Linked DNA regions of Homo sapiens: region 1 is linked to region 2. Evidence: promoter capture Hi-C in 16 types of primary human blood cells and fetal thymus (Javierre and others, 2016). All regions are on one chromosome and are shown on one strand. Each heading gives the region's core, a stretch centred on a gene start or on the middle of the fragment in contact. The rest is flanking DNA. Distances are from core to core; before and after follow the strand shown.

Region 1 (6,196 bases), core at 3,680-6,179, 38 kb after region 2:
TTCTTTGTTTAGCTAATTCTACTCTAAGATACAGCTCGGAGATTATCTCCTCCTGGAAACCATTTCTAAGCTCCATAGTTAGGCTCTGTGGCCTCCGTGTGCTCATATTACAATCTGTGCATTTTTCTTTCTTAGCACCAACTGTATTAAAATTAAGTTAATCTGTTTTTATGGTGCTCCCTTCCTCCTCACCTCTCCCTTTGAGCATTAGCTCCTCAGCTGTGGTCACTCCTCAGCAGCCATGATAATTAGCATGTTGTCTGGCACATATTGAACTTCAATGGAATATGAACGTAATAAGATGTTTATCTGTCTTGCTAAATGTTTTGAATAGTATTGTGCTTTCTAATATGGTAAGAACAGTAGATAAGTAGGAATGGCTTGTACCTCTGCCTGTTGGAAGATCTTAGAATTGTCCTTTTTCTGTGATACAGTCTAGATCAAACATGGTTGCACTTTGCTATAGGACTTCACCAAGGGAAACTTAAAAATCTGTACTGTCTGTAATAGGACTATACCAAACAAATCTCTGGCTTTATCAGTGCTCTAAGACCAGCATTCTGTATATTGATTGGATTGTCGTATAATTGGGGGTAATGATTTGAACTCTTTATGTTAGGCCATAGGCTGGTATAAGTTATTCTTCTGCTATAGTAAATCCTTATGAAATGTTTTATCCATCTGGTTCTTCCATTGTGGAGGTCCTCCTCTATCCCTGGAGGAGTTTCTGTGGCACAATGAATTTGTAATTTTGAATGGAATGTTTCTTGGAACACTAAGTAACCTCCTAAGGGGACATCAGAATGCTTTATTGAAATATTTTGCACCTATTTCAAAAGGTAGAGACTGATAGCAAGTACAATTTAAGTTAAAAAAAAATTATATGGTTGATTTTTAAGGAATTATTAATTTTTTATGTGTGATAATGGTATTGTGATTGTATTTTTTGAAAAAGATTAATCTTTTAAAGATACATACTAAGGTATTTACAAATTAAATCATATGCTTTCCGGAATGTACTTCAGACCAATCTGGGGTTGGAAGAGTAACGATCAGAGTAGAGATGAATAAATAATATATTGATTATATATGTGTAATTATTGACGTTGAAAGATGGATACATTGGGTTTGTTACACTAGTTCCTCTGGTTTTGTGTTTCTTTGGAAAATGTCATTTATACTTCTTACTGTGAATAATAAGCATTTTAATACTTTAATATTGTAAAAGTTAGATTCTTGCATGTAAGTTGTGAAGGAATACAGATATGGTGTTGAATTCTTTAATTTTGTTAGCTCAATGTAGTTGTTAATGTGCTTTCTTGAGTAGTTTAAGGTAACATGGAGTGATGGAAAGACCACTGGATTTGGAGACAAAGATAAATTTTCATATCTCAACTTTGACATCCCATGACCTTAAGCAAGTCATTTAACCTGTCTCAGCATCACTTTCTCCTTCTGTAGCAATACCTATCTTAGAAGGTTATTTTTATTTTATTTTATTTGAGATAGGGTCTGGCTCTGTCACCCATGCTGGATTGCAGAGGTGTGATCTTAGCTTACTGCACCCTCTGCCTACTGGGCTCAAGCTATCCTCCCACCTCAGCCTCCCGAGTAGCTGGGACTACTACAGGTGCATGCCACCACAGCCAGCTAATTTTTTTTTTTTTTTTTTTTGGTGGAGATGGGGTTTTGCCATGTTGCCCAGGCTGGTCTCGAACTCCTGGGCTCAAGCGATCCACCCCCCCTTAGCCTCCCAAGTGCTGGGATTACAGGTATGAGCCACTGCACCCAGCCTCAGAGGGTTATTTTGAGAATTAAGTTTGATAAAGGTTAAAATCACTTTTAAAACTAAATTACCATACAAATTTTTGTTTTTTAATCATTTTCTTCCTTCTTATTCTATATTATTAATCATCTAACCATACAAATGTAAATCAATTGAGCACTACTTTTCCTTTTACATAATAAATGAGAACAGCTAGATATATGTGGTAAATTGAATGGATGAAATTTGTTTATTGGGGCTAGCACTGGTGATGGAAAAGGTTCATGCCCAATTAGAATACAGAGAAGGTAGAGCTAGGATTTATGAAAGAAGATCACACAACCACAGAAATGGAAAGCATAATAGAGAAAATGGAGAGTAGTCTTATTTTGCCTCTTAAGTCCTGAATTCCATCATTTATTCTTAAATAGTATGTAAGCCCTTTGAAGCAAGAGTCAAATCTGGACAAAATTGATGTTATTAAGTCTTTTAGAAAGATGTAGCATCATGGTTTTATGTTTTGCATTCACTGACGTCCTGTGAACACGAAACAAATTTAAGGAGGTAAAGAGGATAATAGTCAAGTGCAAAATCTAGTGTGGAAGAGAAGTTAAAAATTAAAAGAAAAATTGAAATGACATGAGTTTGCACAGAAAATGAGAAATTCTAGCTAAAATGTTCACTCTATTAGCAAAAATGAAAACACGTCAGTTAAGGATAGTAGTACTGTGTCTATTTGAAGTTTATTAGAAACATATTTTCTTTGATTATACAGCTAGATAGGCTCTCAGAAGCATAAAGGAAACTTTGTATGTGGGATGAATTTTAATGGAGGGGTATGTTCTTGGTTTTTCTTCTACATGTGGGTATGTTCTTTGTTTTCAACCCAACTGGTAAACAAAGGAAGTAATTCTATTCTCTCATAGTGACAGAGAGGATATGAAATTACTTTCTCTGTTACTATTTAATGATCTTCTAAAAAATTTATAAACCAAGCTGCCCTATTTTGCAGGCATAAATCTATATTTGATTCAGGTGTTAGAGATTTTTGCCAGAATATTAACTTATTTTCTAATAAAATACACCAGAGCCTGAATCTATCTAAGAATTAATCATAAACTAGAGTGTTTGGGACATTATTTCAGGTATTAGTCACTGGAATAACTTTTCTAAGATAGTCTCTCCTGTAGGGCATTCTCACTACATGGACTTCAAGGACAGCCATGTAGCCAGCAAGCTTCCAGTTTGCTAGTATTGTTTCTTATGACAATTATGTAAAATGCCTTTTTAAAAACGTGTAACACTTACGATGCCATTCAATCTATAGCTAAGTTTTGTGGGATGCCACATCATTTGGATCAATGGTTCCAGTAAAATGTTCTGTAAACTTAAATCCAGAAGATCAGTCATTTGTGGTGAAGTTATTTATTTGAAGAAGATACTTCTCAGTTTTATATGAATATTGGCAAACACTTTTATACTTCCGATTTTTAAATGTTGTTCACATGAATAGCCAGTTCTGCCTTATTCCTAATTTCCCGGCCAGCAACCCAGTCATCCTGAACTGATGGTGCTGTCATGTGTGACCATTTCCTCACTTCCCCCTCAGTGAAATGATGCGCCATCATTAGTAATCCATTGTATAGTGGCGTGTAATTTTTTTTACCCAGTACTCTATTGGTGGACATTTAATTCATTTGTGGTTTTTTTGCTGCTGTGAATATCCTTTCATATGTATCTTCTTAAATTTGTGTAAGTATACCTTAAGATCAATTCTTAGCACTGAAAATGCTTGAGATATAATTTTTAACATAATTTAGAATGCTTAAATTAAAAACTTTTTGTAGGAAAAGAATTATTTTACAAATAAAAATATCTTTTCCATTTTTTTAAATAATATTTCTTAGAAATTCATTGGTTTCAGTTTTTGACAAATAAAGACAACCAGTTCAGGTACTTCATCTAGCAAAATAATCCTTTAATAAAAATCACATTTTGACTGGGCACAGTGGCTCACGCCTGTAATCCCAGCACTTTGAGAGGCTGAGGCAGGCGGATCTCCTGAGGTCAGGAGTTGGAGACCAGCCTGGCCAACATGATGAAACCCCATCTCTACTAAAAATACAAAAATTAGCTGGGCACGGTGGTGCATGCCTGTAATCCCAGCTACTCAAGAGGCTGAGGCAGAAGAATTGCTTGAACCCAGGAGGCGGAGGTTGCAGTGAGCCATTGCGCTCCAGCCTGGGTGACAGAGTGAGACTCCATCTCAAGAAAAAAAAAATTACATTTTTATATATCTTTTGTTGATTTATTTATCTTTATACATAGAATATGACAATAACTTCATAAAATCTTAAACAGATATACTCAATTTTTTCTTTTATGAAATATCTCATTTTCAGAAATACAATTCTAAAGGGCAGTTTTCATTTTTGGAAGGCAAAAATAGGCTTTATTAATTGTGAAGTGACATATAAAGAAACATAAATATAGCTGTTTAAGGTTTCTGATTTAACTGCTTATCTTACTATGTATTTTAGATCTTCTCTCCTGTATCTAATTGGCTTGTAGTCTAATATTGTAGCAAAATGTTGGAGGTTTACCTGCATTATTTTGCATAGATCCATAAAGTGAAGATGGGGCCAGCCATGGTGGCTCACACCTGTAATCCCAGCACTTTGGGAGGCCAAGATGGGTGGATTGCTTGAGGTCAGGAGATTGAGACCAGCCTGGCCAACATGGCAAAACCCTGTCTCTACTAAAATTACAAAAATTAGCCAGGCATGATGGCACATGACTGTAATCCCAGCTGCTCAGGAGACTGAGGCACGAGAATCACTTGAACCCAGGAGGCAGAGGTTGCAGTTAGCCAAGATTGTACTGCTGCACTCCAGCCTGAGTGACAGTGAGAGACTGTGTCTCAAAAAAAAAGTGAAGATGAGCAAGCAGTAGCCATTGGCTAAGTCATTTGAATTCTTAAAAAAAAAAAAGATACCTAGATAGAAAACTTGAAAATTACCTATTGGAATTGGCTACATATATCTGCTTGTTCTAAACCAGAAGTCTGCTTTGAACCTTTACAATTGGCTCAGTTTATCTTTGTCCAGGCTTTTAGCTTCATCAGGTACATTTTCTACTTTACAATCCCATTTTAATTTATGGCTCTAAGGACCCTTGAAATTTTGCAGACTGAAAAACAGCACTCACAAAAACATGTTAATTGATCTACCACTAGATATACAGAGTATAATCATATTTGAATGATATTAGGGTGGGTGGTGGTTTAATTCACATTTCTTATAAAAGCACTGATTCTCAACCCTAACTTGTACTTTAGAATTACCTGGGGCTTTAAAAAAATACAGGTGGCCAGACATCACCCAGAGGGTGGAGTTCAGCGTTGGGAGTTTTAGAAAGTGCTCCAGGTGAGCTCTGCTGTTGTACAGCCAGCATTAAGAACAACTGCTCTATTGGAGTGGCTCAAAGCTCATTCTAGTAAGGAGTAACTTAATGCTGTTCCAAAAATTAAAACATTTGATGAGCTTAATCAGAGCTTCTCAAAGAGTGATATGTATGCCACTGGTGGTACATAAGGTAACTTTACTCACTTTTAGATTTTAATAATTTCATATTTGTTTAATGTGTATTAGAACGGGGTTCCCAACCCCTGGGCCACAGACCAGTACTGTTGTAGCCTGTTAGGAGGTAAGCTGCAGGTGGGCAGGACGAGTGAGCATTTTCACCTGAGCTCCGCCTCCTGTCAGATCAGCAGTACCATTAGATTCTCATAGGAGTGCAAACCCTATTGTGAACTGCACATTCGAGGGATCCAGATTGCACATTCCTTATGAGAGTTTAATGCCTGATGATCTGTCACTGTCTCCAGTCACACCCAGAGGAGACCATCTAGTTGCAGGAAAACAAGCTCAGGGCTCCCACTGATTGTACATTATGGTGAATGTATAGTAACAAGAGGAATAAAGTACACAATAAATGTAATGCACTTGAATCATCCCAAAACAATCCCCTGCCACCCGTCCATGGAAAAATTGTCTTCCACAAAACCGGCCCCTGGTGCCAAAAAGATTGGAGACCGTTGTATTAGAATATACATATAAGTATCGTATCAAATTCACAGTTTCATGAGTACTGCTTTGGATGAAGCTCCATTTTTTTAAAATGATAAGTTAAAGATAGTGTGCCAATTTAAAGGAAATTTGCCAAATTACAGAAATAATTAAACGAATAGGTAGTTCCTACATATGGCAGAAATCATGAAGATGCTGAAGAAACACAATGGCAACTTTGGTGAAGGGCACCCTCTAAAATTTAGGATTTGAATCCAAAGTATCAGTGTTTTTTTCTCCCAGATATGTTTACAGTGACTTAATCCTTCTTTTTCAATTCAGGGACAGACTTTCAAAATTAGTA
Region 2 (6,589 bases), core at 3,694-6,193:
GTTGGTCAGTGAGTTCTGGGGTTTGTTCTTTTGGCCAAGAATTCTTATTATAACATGAAATAATACTTTTAATAATAGCTTCCTCTTCAAAACTGTCGGCATTTGAGATCTCTGGGAGGGTTTCACAATCAATGCCTTGACCTCTTAAGAATGGCTCTTTGGAAAGATGATGAAGTAAAATATCAGAAATGCTTGACTTAGAAGCGTCTCCTTCATTTGCTGGAATATGAAGAGCTGCAGTGCATTGTTTCTCTTTCTCGTCTTTTTTGTTGGCAGCATTTTCAGTAATTTTACCCAGGGGTATGGTCACAGCTGTATTTCCACAAGTCTCACTATGCATAGCCTTCTCTTGAGGGTCATCTGCTATGAAAATAATTTGATTTAAGACTTCAAGGCCATCCTTTTTTGAGGTAAAACTGTAATCATTGCCTATCTTAATCTGAGAGAGGTCCCCATCATAAGGCAAATCCTCCTGCTTATAAGTCGTGTGTTCTGAAAAATCAGCCTCATCCATGTGTGTGCAGCCCGATCGCTCTCGTCCTCTGCCTCCTGAGCTGGCTGCTGTCAGTTGTAACAATAGCTCTGGTTCTCACTGACTGTCTTCACTGTGTGCTATTCTGTGTGAAATGAGAACAGCCTCATTGTTAAATATATTGGAATAATGTATACAACTATGCCAGAACAAAGTGGATGTTTTTTTAATTTGAAAAATTCAGTTACAAACAGGAAGGCAGGAAGCTCAACCACAAGCTGACCCAACCTCAATCCACACTATGTTAACACAATCAGTAGAATAACAGCAAGGAATGGGGGAAAAAAAAAAAGAGAGTGTTACATTTTTCATTTATTAAATTTTGAGGATGACATTAGTCTACAGTTAATGGCCAAATACTTATCAACCTCCCTTAGGAGATAGTATTTGGAGTTTATTCTCCCAAAGTAGGAACTTGGGATGCAAGTAAAGGATTGATTTTTTTTCTTTTTTCTTTTTTTTTTTTTGAGACGGAGTCTCGCTCTGTCGCCCAGGCTGGAGTGCGGTGACACAATCTCGGCTCACTGCAAGCTCCACCTCCCAGGTTCACCCCATTCTCCTGCCTCAGCCTCCCGAGCAGCCGGGACTACAGGTGCCCGCCACCACGCCCAGCTAATTTTTTGTATTTTTAGTAGAGATGGGGTTTCACCATATTAGCCAGGATGGTCTTCATCTCCTGACCTCGTGATCCACCCGCCTTGGCCTCCCAAAGTGCTGGGATTACAGGCGTGAGCCACCGCGCCCGGCCTGATTTTTTTTTTAACTACCAGAGCCACGCCTTGTCCACGTGTCACTGACAGTCTTCTAAGCCATGTGGCGATGGAAGCTGGCCTAGCTCACATGTAACACCCACCTTCTCCATTCTGGTGCCTTTTCACCTGTCCCTCCAGACCTTCTGGTCCCCTTCTCCTGACTTTCCCTTGCATGTCTGAGAAGGGCAGAGAAGGACTTACAGAAATATGACCAAGGGGCCGGGCACGGTGCCTCACACCTGTAATCCCAGCACTTTGGGAGGCTGAGGCAAGCGGATCACCTGAGGTCAGGAGTTCGAGACCAGCCTGGCCAACATGGCGAAACCCCCATCTGTACTAAAAATACAAAAAGTTAGTCAGGTGTAGTGGCAAGCACCTGTAGTCCCAGCTACTTGGGAGGCTGAGGCAGGAGCATCGCTTGAACCTGGGAGGCAGAGGTTGCAGTGAGCCGAGATCAAGCCACTGCACTCCAGCCTAGGTGACAGAGAGAGACCCCGTCTCAAAAAAAGAAAAAAAAAGAAATGTGACCAAGGGACAAATAGGCTTTCAAACACCTGGAGGCCAGTCTGCAGCCAAATGTCCCTTTTCTAATTTGGACTCAGGCAGGAACCTAGTCAGAGAGGCTGCCTTCCCTGAACAACCCCTGCCAGCCACCACAGCCCAGGCGGCGGTCTGGTGGTACCAGACTCTTTGGGGATATTCCTGAAAATGGCTGGAGTAAAACCAGCTGCCATTTGGTATGAGTCCTATTTTCTCTTTTTTAAACAAAATTTAAAGCACCCATTCAGATATCTCTTCCTGATTTGTGAACTTTTGGGATGATTCCTCAGAAGTAGTAATCTCAAGTTTTAAGTAGAGTAACTGAGATTCCCTCTCCCCTGGAGCACCAGCCCAGGGTGACCACAGCTGCTGGCAGCCTCCCTTGCCCATACAATGATTATGTTGGGTGAGCAGATCTCTGAGGTTCTCTCTCCAACCAAATTTTTATGAGTCTATAAGCTGGTGATTTATTAGGTAACCTCAAAAGCTAAAATCATATGTTTGACCAAAATAAATTTTTTTGAACTAAGTCGTCCAAGAAAAAAAGGAGTACAAACTAAATGTGGTAAAAGCATCTGTGAGACATTGTACAAAAATCTTAATTTATAGACACATGCCAATGTTAGAGAACCCAAATTAAACAGATGCTCTGTTTAGAGAGGTGGAGAGAAAGGAGAATATCACTGCAGGATTATTTTAAATCATTTAAAGAGGGTAACATTTAGTATAAAGTGAGGCATGTCTTCATGAGAAGAATTACAGGCTATTCTAATCCAAGTTGAAGAACAAGGGAAAAGGCTTCCCAAGAAAGTGAAAGGCACAGTGGGAAAGCAGAAGTGGAGAGGCATGGATCTGAATACTCTGGCTTCTCTGCTTTCTAGCTGTGTGTCATCTGGCAAGTTATTTAACTCTTGTGAGTCTCGGTTGCCTTTTCTGAGAAATAGGACTAGCAATACCTGAAATAAGGCACTAAAGTACTCGGCATAGGGCTTGGCACAGAGTAAGAATTCCATACATTGTTGTTGAAAAATGAAAAAACAAAACCAGTCTCAGTATTGGAATACTGAAGAATGCCCAGGTCCAGAGGTGAGGCACTCCTTATCCGTGGGGATATTTAAAGGATAAAGGAAGGAATTGCATATGTAAAACATAATCTCGTCCAAGCAAGGTGGCTCATGCCTGTAATCCCAGCACTTTGGGCGGCCGAGGCAGGTGGATCACGAGGTCAAGAGATGGAGGCCATCCTGGCCAACATGGTGAAACCCCGTCTCTACTAAAAATACAAAAAATTAGCTGGGCGTGGTGGCGCACACCTGTAGTCCCAGCTAGTCAGGAGGCTGAGGCAGGAGAATCACTTGAACCCGGGAGGCAGAGGTTGCAGTGAGCCAAGATCGCGCCACTGCACTCCAGCCTGGCGATAGAGTGAAACTCCGTCTCAAAACAAAAAAGACATAATCTCTACAAGAACTTTAAGACAATTTTAAAACTCAATCTGTAAATAAATATATTTGAAGGTAAAAAAAAAAATCAGGCTGGATGAGGTGGCTCATGCCTGTAATCCCAGCACTTTGGGAGGCTGAGGCAGGTGGATCACTTGAGCTCAGTAGTTCAAGACCAGCCTGGCCAATGTGGCAAAACCCATTTCTACTAAAAATACAAAAATTAGTTGGGCATGGTGGTGCATCCCTATAGTCCCAGCTACTTGGGAGGCTGAGGCAGGAGAATCACTTGAACCCGGGAGGCAGAGGTTGCAGTGAGCCGAGATCATGCCGCTGTACTCCAGCCTGAGCAACAGCAAGACTCTGTCTCAAAAAAATAAAAAATAATAAATAAATAAATAAATCACTAAGCAAGTTTAAACAAAATATTGTCTAATTTTTTAGAACAAAAAAAAACAGAGTATCTTTTTTTTTTTTTTTTTAGACAAGGTCTCACTCTATCACCCAGGCTGGAGTGTAGTGACAACACCATGGCTCAACTGATCTTCCTCCCTTAGCCTCCTGAGTAGCTGGGACTACAGGCGCACACCACCACACCTGACTAATTTTTAATTTTTTTTTTAGAGATGGAGTTTCACCATGTTATTCAGGACGGTCTCGAACTCCTGAGCACAAGTAATCCACCTGCCTCAGCCTCCCAAAGTGCTGGGATTACAGACATGAGCCACTGTGCCTGGCCTGAGAGTATGTTTAAATGCCTACAGAGAGAATGGAAGAAGAAGAAAACAAATTCTAGTTTTGCAAGACTTTTAATGACCCAAGTATCAGTCCCAAAGTTATCCTCATGCTTTCTTTACATTTTCAGGAGCTCATTGCCAAACGCCATACCCTTCTTGTATAGAAAGGAAAGATACTTTGTTGGCCAAATTCCCACTTTTAAAATATAATTAATTAAAACTGATAAAATTTGAATTTTGCTCTGGCTCTCAAGAAAAAGAAAAAAAGTCCAGGCACAGTGGCTCATGCCTGTAATCTCAGCACTTTGGGATGCCAAAACAGAAGGATTCCTTGAGGACAGGAGTTTGAGAACAGCTTGGGCAACAAAGCAAGACCCTGTCTCTACAAAGAAAAAAAAAATTAAAAATTAGCCAGCAGTGGTGGTATATGCCTGTAGTCCCAGCAACTTGGGAGGCTGAGATGGAGGATCAGTTGAGCCCAGGAGGTCAAGGCTGCAGTGAGCAGAGATCATGCCACTGCACTCCAGCCTGGGTGACAGAGCAAGACCCTGTCTCTCTCTCTCTCTCTCACACACACATAAACACACACACACAAACACACACACAGACAAAGAAAGAAAGAAAGGAAAAGAAAAGGAGTGAGATACCATTAAGATAAACCAGAAACCTGAGGAACACTCTCATTACATACAGGAAAACAGCTTCTGTTGTTATTATTTTTTGCATGTGTGCATGCAAAATATCAAGAGGATTTTTTCTGGAAAAGGACAATCCATACCCTTAGCAAGGTAATGAGCTTCTTTGAGATAACTGGAGGAACTGGAGCATCTTCCCATGTCAACACTTGGCTCAATCTTGAAATCCAAAGGCATATCCAAAGAGGTTCCACTCAGAATCCAACAGAACCTTTCTGTAGAATCCAAATTGATTTTCTGAAGTCAGGTGACTACATTTGGGGCCACGCCTGCTTATGCAGCTATCTTGACCATTATGTGCTCAGCAATACCTCACAAGTCACTCTGAGATGAACACTTTGAGCAAACAGGGCCAGGACATCACAGTGACCCAGGCTGTGAAAACACTTCAGGCCAGTCCCTGAGTAGGAATGGACAACAAGGTGGTCACCATGCTGACAGCTATTCCCTGTGTGATTTACTTTATTATGAAGTCTAAATTTGATGCTGAAGTGCTAGCCTAAGCTCACTAACCTGCCAACTTAGAGAAGAAGGTAACCATGGCTAGGATGACTGGGAATCTGATGGACTCAATTAAGAATTTCTACAGATGGGAAAACCAAAACTCCTTAGTGGCAAGAGGCCAAAGATGGTCAGCGAATTGTTGTTTCCGGCTGGTAGGTGACATTTCTTCTATTCGCTAAGCCCATTTTGTGATAACACAGTTTTCCATATTGACAGGATTGTTTTCATCACCAAAGGAAAACCGTGGGTCCATGTTCCTGTGACAATCTCTTTGTCTCATTCCCAACACCCTCTGTTCTGTGTTTAAACCTCTACAAACCAGGCAAACTGGGGACTATGTGTAGGACCCAGACATGGAGGAGAAAGCAGGCATTGTTTCTACTTACCTTATCTGCCCCTCCACTAAGGTACCAGTTAGTACAACCACGTAACACTCACAAGTCCTACACTTCTAAGATCAGCCCTACTGACTTTGTCACGGTAAGAGTTGGCTGTTGGAGGCAATGATTCAACAATCTAAATTCTGATTATTCCTTTTTGTATCTGTCATTTAGAATGTGAATAGTGTACATCTAAAAGCTTTAAGTACATTATCCATCAATTTTTACTACACAAAGCAGTATGCTGCTCTGTCTTCAAACAGCACAATGCTACAGTCAACACAAAGGGCAAAACCATGGCAATATGGCAATTGCAATAGAAACTCACCAACATCTTGGAGTCTCTGGATATCACAGGTGAACAAGTTGAAGGGCCTTGCGACACAGACAAGCAACCCTTTAATTCTAAATCATCTTTTTTTCAACAGTTGGAAGTTGACTGCAGTTGAATAACAGAACAAAAACGGAGCTTCAAAATCATGGCGTGCCTGCTTCTTCTGGGTTCTTTTAACTGCAAGCAATCAGCTTTGAAGAGCACGTAGGGAACTTCTGATGTGATACAAACTTTTGTCTTTTTTTTTTTTTTTGTCTTTTAAGAGCATTCAAAAACACTTGGTCTGGCTGTTTCAATTTTCTCTTTCTCTCCTATTCCTAGCTCAAGAATAACATTTACATATGAAAGAAAATAGGAGATGGCTCAGAATAATATGTCCAAGGCCACGCCCAGGCGTCAGGGATTCATGAATTTTGTATACAGTGTATGATGTTTCTAGATTAAAATATTTTCAAAGGTAACATGATATAGGCTCCCTCTGTAATGACTGCATTTGATTATGCTCTGGTAATTCTATCAGCTAACTTTATCTCAGAAATGTGGGGTACCCACAATGCAGTGCCTCAACTGTAACCATATACCATTCAGTGAGGCTGTCTAGCTTCACCCTGTCATTGTGGGGTGGCAGAAGGGAGACACTGTGATGGGCAACAAGTCAATCCAATACTCCTACAAG

What was found. The method cuts DNA at HindIII sites, captures the fragments that hold promoters and counts their contacts. A CHiCAGO score of 5 or more calls a contact.
Region 1: a fragment that was not itself captured here is called in contact with the fragment with the promoter of AKNAD1 in region 2 in 1 of 17 cell types (M2 macrophages); the score reaches 5.0 in M2 macrophages.

What each region holds. Positions count from the first base shown.
Region 1 is chr1:108,890,011-108,896,206 of GRCh38, forward strand. All of the region lies in intron 2 of GPSM2 (G protein signaling modulator 2), which reads left to right. Among named protein-coding and RNA genes, the nearest start is that of GPSM2, 16 kb to the left of the region's middle. The HindIII fragment of the contact is 3,859 bases long and covers 3,001-6,196 here.
Region 2 is chr1:108,852,151-108,858,739 of GRCh38, forward strand. It overlaps AKNAD1 (AKNA domain containing 1), which reads right to left and starts at 4,944. Exons shown (of 16, transcript NM_152763.5): 1 at 4,779-4,944; 2 at 1-617. The coding sequence starts at 514. SPATA42 (spermatogenesis associated 42) reads left to right here and starts at 5,067. Exons shown (of 3, transcript NR_034168.1): 1 at 5,067-5,351; 2 at 6,008-6,117; 3 at 6,235-6,374. The HindIII fragment of the contact is 6,949 bases long and covers 1-5,776 here.